Regions from separate parts of the Homo sapiens genome. Here region 2 is linked to region 1. Evidence: promoter capture Hi-C in 16 types of primary human blood cells and fetal thymus (Javierre and others, 2016). All regions are on one chromosome and are shown on one strand. Each heading gives the region's core, a stretch centred on a gene start or on the middle of the fragment in contact. The rest is flanking DNA. Distances are from core to core; before and after follow the strand shown. Region 1 holds the start of RMDN2-AS1 (RMDN2 antisense RNA 1). Region 2 holds the start of LOC107985868 (a long non-coding RNA gene).

Region 1 (5,336 bases), core at 2,495-4,994:
AATAATAATAATAATAATAATAATAATAATAATAATAATGAATCTAGACACAGGCCTTATACTGTTCAAAAACATTGACTCAAAATGCATCATGGACCTAAATGTAAAATTCAAAACTATACAACTTCTAGAAGAAAACAGGAGAAAACCAAAGAGGAGGAGATGCTAAAAAGTAGTAGGAAGGGGCAGGTAGGGCACACAGTGTGCATTTGTCAGACACTGTCCTGGGTACCTTTGTGCTTATTGTTTCATTTAATCCTTATGGCATGGTCCGATTCTTGACATCCTGGGTCAGATGGCGACACTGGAAAAGTTAGGTTCATGGGAGGGCAGGGCCAGCCTGGCACCCTTCCCAGCTGTCCCTTCTGACCCCATGTGCACCTTCAGGGAACCCATTCTGCAGCCTCAGACACTGGGTGATTTTCTGGCAAGGGAGTGAGAGACAACTTCCTTCTTCTGTTTCAAACCTAATTTATCTCCAGGTGGAGTCAGGGCTTTCTACTTAATGATAGGAGTGAAAAGGCAGAAAAAATGACAAAATCAGGGCGAGGGTGAATGTTCCCATCAAAGCAGAAATGATGTAAACCTTTTGTATTTTCCCAGAGAAGCGGGGGCTGTAGATAGCAGCGACTGTGCTCCTTAAATAAAAGAAGGGTCAGCGACTTCTGAGAAATGGGAAAATGGAGTGCCTGGGGGTGCCCAGGAAGAACTGAAAAGACTGTATGTTGGCTTCCATCCGAGGCTGATCTATGGGCTTCGGGACCAGACAAGTGTGAGTTAGAATCCCATTTCTGTGACTCACCGGTTGAGTGAAATTAGGCAAGTTCCTTATCCTCTCTGAGCCATAGTTTTCTCATTTGTAAAATAAGGACAATCCCAAGTGACTAAATTATTTTACCATAATCATATGGATTAGTTTTAATCCATATGAATATAGTTAAAATTATATGAATATATAATCTTAATCCATGAACATTTTATCTCTCTCTCTGTGTGTGTGTGTGTGTGTGTGTGTGTGTGTGTGTGTGTGTGTGTGTATAGCATCTGGCTTTTAAACTGTTGCTCAAAAATATTATTTTCATTGTCACTTGCAAAGCTCAAATCAAAACTGAGCAGAAGGGAACACCCTTCCCTGTTTGGCTGCCAGGCGGTACACCTCTATGGGAACCACCAGCCTGGCCCTCCGAGTGCTGAAAGGGGCGAAACCTATCAGGGCAGGGATGGGATGGGAGATGCCAAGAAATGACCCAGTGATCCTCCCCAGGATCAGGTCTGGCCAGCCCAAAGTGTCTCTGCCCTTACTAATGCCGGAATACTTGTCAGTCCCAACCCTGTGGGCTGTGAGAAGCACCCAGTGTAATCAACCCACCTTCTATTCCGATTCCAAAAGGCTTTTACTGGGTGCCTGCCATGTGGCAGGTTTTATTCTAGATGCTGTGAATAGAGGTTGATGATGAGTGGTTGGTTTGGCCCTAGCGTAGCTCAGCAACTATAAAAGAGTGCAAACCATGCCTTAAAAAGCTGAGGCTTTAGCTCCAGGCGCAGCTGGCTCCGAGGCGGGGGTTGCAGGCAGCGGTAACCGGGCCTGAACCGTGCAGGAGACAGTTCGGAGTTTCCCAGAAAACAGCTTGCTCAATACGGGGTATCAGTTTTCCTCCCGGCACTTTCCGCCTTGTACCGAGATAACTGAATCAGTAACGCAGAACTCAGCTCATTCTATTGTTGGGGAATCCCAAAAACACCCCAAGGGAGAGAAAGACAAAGTGCTGCACAAAGAGACTCGCAGTCGGCGTCCGCCCTCGCTTGAACGCGTCCCCCTTGCGCCCGGGGGGCGCTGCGCTCCCTCCAGGAGAGGACGCTGCGTCTAAGTCTAAGAGCCTCCAGTGGAAAGTCCCGGAAGCCCTCCCCTGGGCTTGAGATTTTTGCTGGCTGAAATGGAGCCTGGAAGTGCTTTTCTGTGGTTTAGATGGGGAAGGAATGGGGGAAAGAAACGGTTCGGGAAAGGGGAGAATGGAGGGGAGAAGAGGGAAGGAAGATGGCAGGAGCCTCGGAGGTCAGGCTTGCAAGCAAAGCAAACACCAGGCTCCAGAGGGGTTTGCAGGCTACAGAACACCGAGTTTCGAGAGAATCACATGTTTATCTTCTCTTAAAATTCTCATACTGAACGATCTGGATGTGACTCAGCTCACGCAGTCGCTAGCTGTGGCACCGTGTGAGCTACTTAACCTCAGAAAGAGTTTCATCATCTGTAAAATGGGCATCACGGCCTTGTGGAATGGATTAAAAGAGCCAAAGTGCATAAAGCTCACGCAGTATCCTTTATAAGCAGTTTGTAGGTCTCCTTCCTTGAATTTCTTTCAAGCTCCCAATAGCCAACGGGAAGCCGAACACACTTTCACACTAAAAATGGGAATTCAGGGAAGTATCATCAGGTTCTGAACTATGTTTTAAGACTCAAGTCAAACACCAAAACTGAGTCACCACCTAATGTGTGTGCAGCACGTGTTAGGGGCAGTTTGCTATGTGATGACTTGAACGACAGTTTCTCTCTCCTGGGACTTTCATAAAATTCCTTTGGTGTTGCCACACACTTCTGGGATTCTCCACAATGAGCCCATTGCTGAGCCTGTCTCTGCAGATGTTTATTAAACAAGCAGAATTTAGGGGAATAGTCAGCAAGTCTTCACCAAGTTCTTCTATGTGGGCAGCTTTTGTGGTGTGGCCAGGGTATGAGGATAAAGAGCAACTTGGAAAAGTCTGGGGAGAATTTAAGTAGCCTGAAGAGTCTCTGTCCCTCAGGGAGGAAAGCTGAGAAATCGTTTCCATATTTATGTGTCAATTGCTTTATGTCCATTTATTTGATCTTCCTTACAAAATCTTGCATAGAAAATTTCATCCTCATTTTACAGATGAGGAAACTGAAGCTTAGAGAGCTTAGGTCACTTACCCAAGTTCATCCAGGTAGCAAAGTGTCAGGTCTGGATTTAAATCAGGTTGAGTCCAGTACCTTTTTCTTTTTTATATCACGCTGCCTTTCCCTAGAAGCCAAAATTTCTAGGAAATAAATGAACTGCAATGACAAAGCAGCACATTTTCCCATGTTCTTTGCTCTTGATCCCTACCTACTCTTTTCCCGGAAATAGACAATAAAGCCACCAGGATACCTGAGACAGCCTTGGTCATCTTTGTACCGTAGCCAGCACCATGGATTTTTGCCTAGTTACTTTCCCATCAGATTTTAACAGAAAGAACACTGTATTTGCCAGCTCAGTACAGCATATCTCTGGCTCTGTTTTCTCCCCAGCAGGAATCCGAGGGTCTGTCTCTGTATGTGTTATCATCAGACTGGTAAAGAGTTACATGTGTCAGCACAGAAGAAAAGAGCTTTGATGTGAGTTCAGCATGTAAGAAAGCCTTCATTGCTGTCATGCTTTCAACAGGTTCCCCACGACCCACCACTGCCTGCCAAGATGAATGTAAATGAAGCAGAAGTCTCACAGGGTAAATTCAGCTTCCCACGACCTGCAGTTGGACAGGGTGGCAAGGAGATGATGATAATTCCATGGCTCCCAGCTTAATTTCTCTTGGGGAGGGGTATGTGGACTCTTGCTATCCTGGAGTCCATATCATGCAGGACTCCGGAACATAAAAGGCAACAACAGTGAAGTGAGTGCCTGTTACAAACAAGGCTCAACTCAAAGCTAACAATTCTTCTTTATTAGGATACCACTGATCAGAGCTGCAAAGTGTACTCACATCTGTCATTTCGTGTCATTCTTACATAAATCCTGTAGCTGGGCACAGTAGGAAGAAGCATTCTCATCATGGCCACTTAGCTTGCTCGAGATTACACAGAACCATGCCTCTGGTTTCCTGGTACAGTGCTCCGGCAGGTGACGGATGCTCCTGGGTGACATATCACGGATCTCTCTGAGGTGAGATCTTCATGATTCTATATCATAGGCATCTCTTTATCTTCAAGTTGGGCAACATCAGCAGGGTTCCCATGAGTATGTGCCCAGCGAGGCTATTTAGTTCCTCTTATCTTTTTTTTTTTCTACTTGCCCTCGTTTTTCCTGAGATTTTATTTCCTTCCTAGCTGGCATACCTTTCCCTGCTGTGGTATTCAGACCTAAATAGTGTGTGCACCTATTACCTCTGCAGAGTAATTACTGTTTGGTACCATGGTAGAGTTTCTGTGTCCAGATACGGTTGTGAATGCTTGGAATGTAACATTGGGAAAGACAGAACTATTGCTTGTAAGTGGATTTGTGGACATCATGGTGCTATGAGAAAACTAAGTTGAAGATGCTCCTGCATCTTGCTGGTTAAACTAGATATAAACCAGTTGCTTAATAATTCATAGCCTATCCTATCTGTTTCCCACCCTCCTTATCTTCCAGGGACTCATTTATTGAATAACTCATTTTACATGCCTCTTTTATCATATACATTTTTATGTGTATTAGGATGTATTTATGGACTTTATATTCTATTTCACTGATTTGTCTATTCATTCATATTTCTTTGAGTATGATAGCTTTATGCATTTTTTCTTATCTGGTAGGTATTGTTGCCCCTCATTGCTTGACTTCTTCAGTATTTTCACAACTACTCTTACTTGTTTGATTTTCCATTTGAACCTCAGAACATAAAAAGAATCTTGTTGGTATTTGTATTGGAATTTTATCAAATTTGTAGATTAATTGAAGGATATTGGATAATTTTAGGATGCTGTCTTCCTAATCAAAATATAGTGTGTCTTTTTATTTGTTCAAACTTTTGGGGTTCCTTCAATTTCTGCTTGCCTATCAGACATGATTCTTATATTTATTCCTAGATATTTGATCTTGTTTTACTCAGGGTAAATGAGGCATTACCTTCCAGTACACCTTCTAACTGGCTGCCATCTGTATTTGTCATGGCTACTGATTTCTATATATTTATTCTTTTATTGTTGAAGAATGTTTTGTAGTTCGTTCTTTCAGGTTTTTCACACGTGAATTTATTTGCCAACATAAATGATACTTACCATATTCTGTTAATGTATTACTTTCAAATATTCTAATTTGTTTGTCTTTCCTAATTAGAGCTAGTATCTCTAGAACAATATTCAATAATAGTAGTGACAGTGTCATTTTTCCTGTCCTTACTTCAGCATAAATGCTTCTAAATACTTTGTTAGTAGGCATGATGAGCTCAGATAAAAAGCTTTTTTTTAAATATTAAAACAGTATTCCTTTATTTCTACTTATTAAATTTTAAAATCAAGAAAACATTCTTGCCCTTTAAAATATTTTATATTTGTATATGTTTTATCATGAAAATTTTAGTAG
Region 2 (5,049 bases), core at 35-2,534, 650 kb after region 1:
TGAGATAGAAATATACAGGGAAGGACCTATTCTGGATAAGAGGATGTGAGGAACAGCCTCTGTGAGAAGGCCAAGAAAGAGACAGCAATGTAAATCGGGACTAAAGGAGAATCCCATGTGGAGGATAAGGATGTCCAGAAGCCTCCCTATGGCAGGGGACTGCTTAGTAAGTTCAAGGAACAAAAGAGGGCAATGGCATTTTAGGCCAGAGAGGGAGGGAAAGAGTGGTAGAATGTTGAGTTTCTGGGCCAGGCACGGTGGCTCACGCCTAGAATCCCAGCACTCTGGGAGGCTGAAGCAGGTGGATCACCTGAGGTCAGGAGTTTGAGACCAGCCTGCCCAACATGGTGAAACCCTGTCTCTACAAAAAATACAAAAAAAAAAATTAGCCCGGCATGATGTTGGGCGCCTGTAATCCCAGCTATTCAGGAGGCTGAGACAGGAGAATTGCTTGAACCCAGGTGGTGGAGGTTGAAGTGAGCCGAGATTGCACCACTGCACTCCAGCCTGGGCAACAGAGTGAGACTCTGTCTCAAAAAAAAAAAAAAAAAAAAAGATTGTTGAGTTTCTGAGTGGGGAGGGCCTTGTAGGCCATAGTAAGCCATAGTTAAGGAGTTCATATTAATTCTCAGTGCAGTGAAAAACCATCACAGGGTTTTATGCAGCATAGCAATGAGACCTGATTAATGTGTTTAAAACATTTCTCTGACTGTTGCATGAAGTCTAGAATGAAGCAGGGTGGAATGCTGCAGGGAGTCCAATTGGGAGGCTGTTGCATATCACAGGTGAGAGAGGAGGAAGCAGAAGCAAGATCAAGAGCAGATTCAAAGCAAGAGGTACCAAAGGATTGCCACAGATGAGTGGGACTTACCAGGTGACTTACAAGTGAACCATCCTGGCTTCAGTGAATCATCCTGGCTTAAGGTCCAGGATTAGGAAAGACAAGTTTCCTCATCATGAAGTTCATTCAACAAGTATTTAACATGCATCTACCATGTTCCAAGTACTAGGCCGGTCATTGAGGATACAGCAGTAAACGAAACAAACTCCCTACTCTTCTTCTGGGCTCACATTCTAGAGAGGAGAGAGAGATAACACACAAATAAACAGATAACAGTCCCCTAGAAATCAGAGCCTGAAACAAAAGCTCATGGCTTAGACTTTATGAGAGAAGGTGCAATTTAGGGGGAGTAAAAGTGAAGGAAAGTAGGAAGTGAGACAGGAAAGGAAGAATGGCAAATACAAGGGATGTGTTACCAAGATGGCCAGCTTTGCCACAAATACAGCTTGTTTCTCCATCTCCATCTCTTCCAGAGAGGTCAAATAAAATCACTGCATGTCAAAACAATCCACTGGAGGGAGGAAGGGTAAGCAATTAACCCTCGGTCTCTTCCTATCTCCTGCTTTCCATTGATTTGTCTACTGTGCAGGACATTAACTGTATGTATTTCTGGGTTGTGTCACTGGCCCCCAGGGCAGCTGCTGGGGAAGCCAGAGCTTCCCTGGATTCAGTTGAGTCAGACCTCAGTGTTGCAGCTGCTGCAGCTCCTACCAAACATAAGTCTAACCCTCATCTCTGGGGAAAGAAGAAGCAATGTGTAGCGTTAGGGGATGAAGTGATTGATGGTGGTGGCTTTACAGCGTAAGTTGTCACTAAGACCTCTCCAGGATGGAAAATGGGCAAGTCCAGGGGACAGGATGAAGGGGATCAGGGAAGGCCCCTCCAATTAAGTATTAGTTGAGCAAAACCTCAGATGAAATGTGGGCACATCCGACGCAAATATCTAGGGGAAAGCATTCCAGGCAGAGGAGCAAGCACATAGAAAGGCAGTGATTCAGGACTGTGCTCAGCTTGTTTGGGAAAAGCCAGGAGGCCAGTGTGGCCAGGAGAGGTGATGTAGGAAGAGAGCCATAGGAGGAGGGACCAGAAAGATGGAGGAGCCTGGTCATATGGAACCTTGTCAGCCATAGAAATGACACTGGATCCTATTCTGAGAGAAAGGAAAAGCCATTTCAGAGCTGTAATATGACCTGATTGCAATTTTTTTTTTTTTGAGACAGAATTTCACTGTGTTGCCCAGGCTGAAGTGCAGTGGTGTGATCTCAGCTCACTGCAACCTCTGCCTCCTGGGTTCAAGTAATTCTCCTGCCTCAGCCTCCTGAGTAGCTGGAATTACAGGTGGAACAACCATGCCCAGCTAATTTTTGCATTTTTAGTAGAGACGGGTTTTGCCATGTTGGCCAGGCTGGTCTCCAACTCCTGACCTCAGGTGATCAGCCCACCTATGCATCCCAAAGTGCTGGGATTACAGGCATGAGCCATCACACCCAGCCCCTGATTCCAATTTAAAAGGATCGTTCTAGTCCCTGTGATAGGAGACTACAGAAGCAAGGTGGAGCAGGGGGACCCAGGAAGAGATGATGGTGACTTGACCCAGAGGGGGAGCACTGCTCAAAGGGGACAGACCTGGGGTACAAAGGAGAGCCTATAGAACTTGATAATGTCCAGAGCTGAGAAAGAAGAGTCAGTACCTGGCTTAAAAAGTGTCCATGTACTAATGTAGGAAGAAGAAGGTTCGGGAGGATGCACGGAACTGTGAGTTCAGTTTTGCATTTCCTCATTTGAAGTGTCTTTGGGACACCCCAGTGGAGATGTTTGGAGTTTTGGGAGAGATTGAGACTGGAGATACTAATTTGGAAGTTATCTACACATAATCTTCAAACCATGGGGCTAGATGTGATCAGCTGGGGAGTGAGTATAGCTGGAGAAGAGGTCCAAGAACTAAGCTCCAGAATATTCTGATTTTTAAGAGTCAGAAAGACAAAAAAAGACACAGCAAGGGAGACAGAAGGAGAGACTAGAAAGGTAGGAGAACCAGGTGAAAGTGGTAACCTAGAACCCAAGGATTGACTGATCCACCAAGTCATTGCCTCTGAGAACTGAGTAAAAAGAGACTGGAGATTAGATCGGAGCTCCAAGCTAAGGTCTGCAGAGCACCAGCTTACAGGGAGGTGCTGAAGAGTCCCGGCTGCAGTGCGTCAGGGTGAGTGTGCTGGGGGGTTTGGATAAGGTTTCACCAATAAAGTTCTAGGCCACTCTCCTACCTTCAACCAGATCTGCACTGCTTTTATCTTTGGGGTTTTCGTGTGAGATATCCTTCAAAGAAAGGACTTTACTACTTAAAATACAAAAACGTTGAAAACTGTTGGAGTACATTCTACCACTGGGAAAGAGGCAAAAACGTGGACAGGGACCGTCCGTGCAGTGCAGCCCCAAGGAGAATCTAAAGCTGAGGGTGAAAACCATAGAGTAAATCAAGCTTGTCCAACCCGCAGCCCACCGGTGGCATGCGACCCAGGATGGCTTTGAATGTGGCCCAATACAAAACCATAAACTTTCTTAAAACATAATGGGCTGGCTGCAGTGGCTCACATCTGTAATCCCAGTACTTTGGAAGGCTGAGGTGGGTGGATCACCTGAGGTCAGGATTTTGAGACCAGCCTGGCCAATATGGCGAAATCCTATCTCTACTAAAAATACAAAAATGGCTGACTCTTTTCGGACTCAGCCCGCCTGCACCCAGGTGAAATCAACAGCCTTGTTGCTCACCCACATTGCAGCCCAGGGCTGCTCCCCACCCGCTTCTCCGTGTCTCTACCTTTTTCTTAACCTTGCCTCCTTCACTATAGGCAAGCTTCCACCCTCCATTCCTCCTTCTTCTCCCTTAGCCTGTGTTCTTAAGAACTTAAAACCTCTTCAACTCTCGCCTGACCTAAAATCTAAGCATCTTATTTTCTTCTGCAACACCGCTTAGCCCCAATACAAACTTGACAATGGCTCTAAATAGCCAGAAAACGGCACTTTCAATTTTTCCATCCTACAAGATCTAGATAATTCTTGTCGTAAAATGGGCAAATGGTCTGAGGTGCCTAACGTCCAGGCATTCTTTTACATATCAGTCCCTCCCCTCTGTTCCCAATGCAACTCATCCCAAATCTTCCTTCTTTCCCTTCCGCCTGTCCCCTCAGTCCCAACCCCAAGCATTGCTGGGTCTTTCTAATCTTCCTTTTCTACAGACCCATCTGACCTCTCCCCTCCTCGCCAGGCCGAGCTAGGTCCCAATTCTTCCTCAGCCTCGGCTCCTCCACCCTATAATCCTTTTATCACCTCCCCTCCTCACACCCAGTCCAGCTTACAGTTTCATTCCGCAACTAGCCGTCTCCCACCTGCCCAGCAATTTCCTCTTAAAAAGGTGGCTGGAGCTAAAGGCATAGTCAAGGTTGATGCTCCTTTTTCTTTATCCGACCTCTCCCAAATCAGTTAGCGTTTAGGCTCTTTCATCAAATATAAAAACCCAGCCCAGCTCACGGCTCATTTGGCAGCAGCCCTGAGACGCTTTACAGCCCTAGACCCTGAAAGGTCAAAAGGCCGTCTTATTCTCAATATACATTTTATTTTTTACCCAATCTGCTCCCGACATTAAATAAATCTCCAAAAATTAAATTCCAGCCCTCAAACCCCACAACAGGACTTAATTAACCTCACCTTCAAGGTGAACAATAATAGAGTAGCAGCAGCCAAGTAGCAACATATTTCTGTGTTGCAATTCCTTGCCTCCACTGTGAGCCAAACCCCAGCCACATCTCCAGCACACAAGAACTTCCAAACGCCTGACGGCAGCTGCAAGGCGTTCCTCCAGAACCTCCTCCCACAAGAGCTTGCTACAAGTGCAAGAAATCTGGCCACTGGGTCAAGGAATGCCCACAGCCCAGGATTCCTCCCAAGCTGTGTCCCATCTGTGCCACTGAAAATCGGACTGTTCAACTCACCTAGCAGCCACTCCCAGAGGCCCTGGAACTCTGGCCCAAGGCTCTCTGACTCCTTCCCAGATCTTCTCGGCTTAGCAGCTGAAGACTGAGACTGCCCGATTGCCTCGAAAGCCTACAGGACCATCACAGACTCTCTGGGTAACTCACAGTGGAAGGTAAGTCTGTCCCCTTCTTAATCAATATGGAGGCTACCCACTCCACATTACCTTCTTTTCAAGG

The links. Contacts are between HindIII fragments. The CHiCAGO score rates a contact against its expected background, and 5 or more counts as called.
Region 2: a contact is called between a fragment that was not itself captured here and the fragment with the promoter of RMDN2-AS1 in region 1, in 1 of 17 cell types (megakaryocytes). The highest score is 6.0, in megakaryocytes.

What each region holds. Positions count from the first base shown.
Region 1 is chr2:38,034,749-38,040,084 of GRCh38, reverse strand. It overlaps RMDN2-AS1 (RMDN2 antisense RNA 1), which reads left to right and starts at 3,744. Exons shown (of 4, transcript NR_102712.1): 1 at 3,744-3,935. It also overlaps a transcript of RMDN2 not described here. RefSeq lists a silencer at 1,419-1,488. The HindIII fragment of the contact is 2,287 bases long and covers 2,927-5,213 here.
Region 2 is chr2:37,384,104-37,389,152 of GRCh38, reverse strand. It overlaps LOC107985868 (a long non-coding RNA gene), which reads left to right and starts at 4,849. Exons shown (of 3, transcript XR_001739403.3): 1 at 4,849-4,985. The HindIII fragment of the contact is 4,076 bases long and covers 1-3,322 here.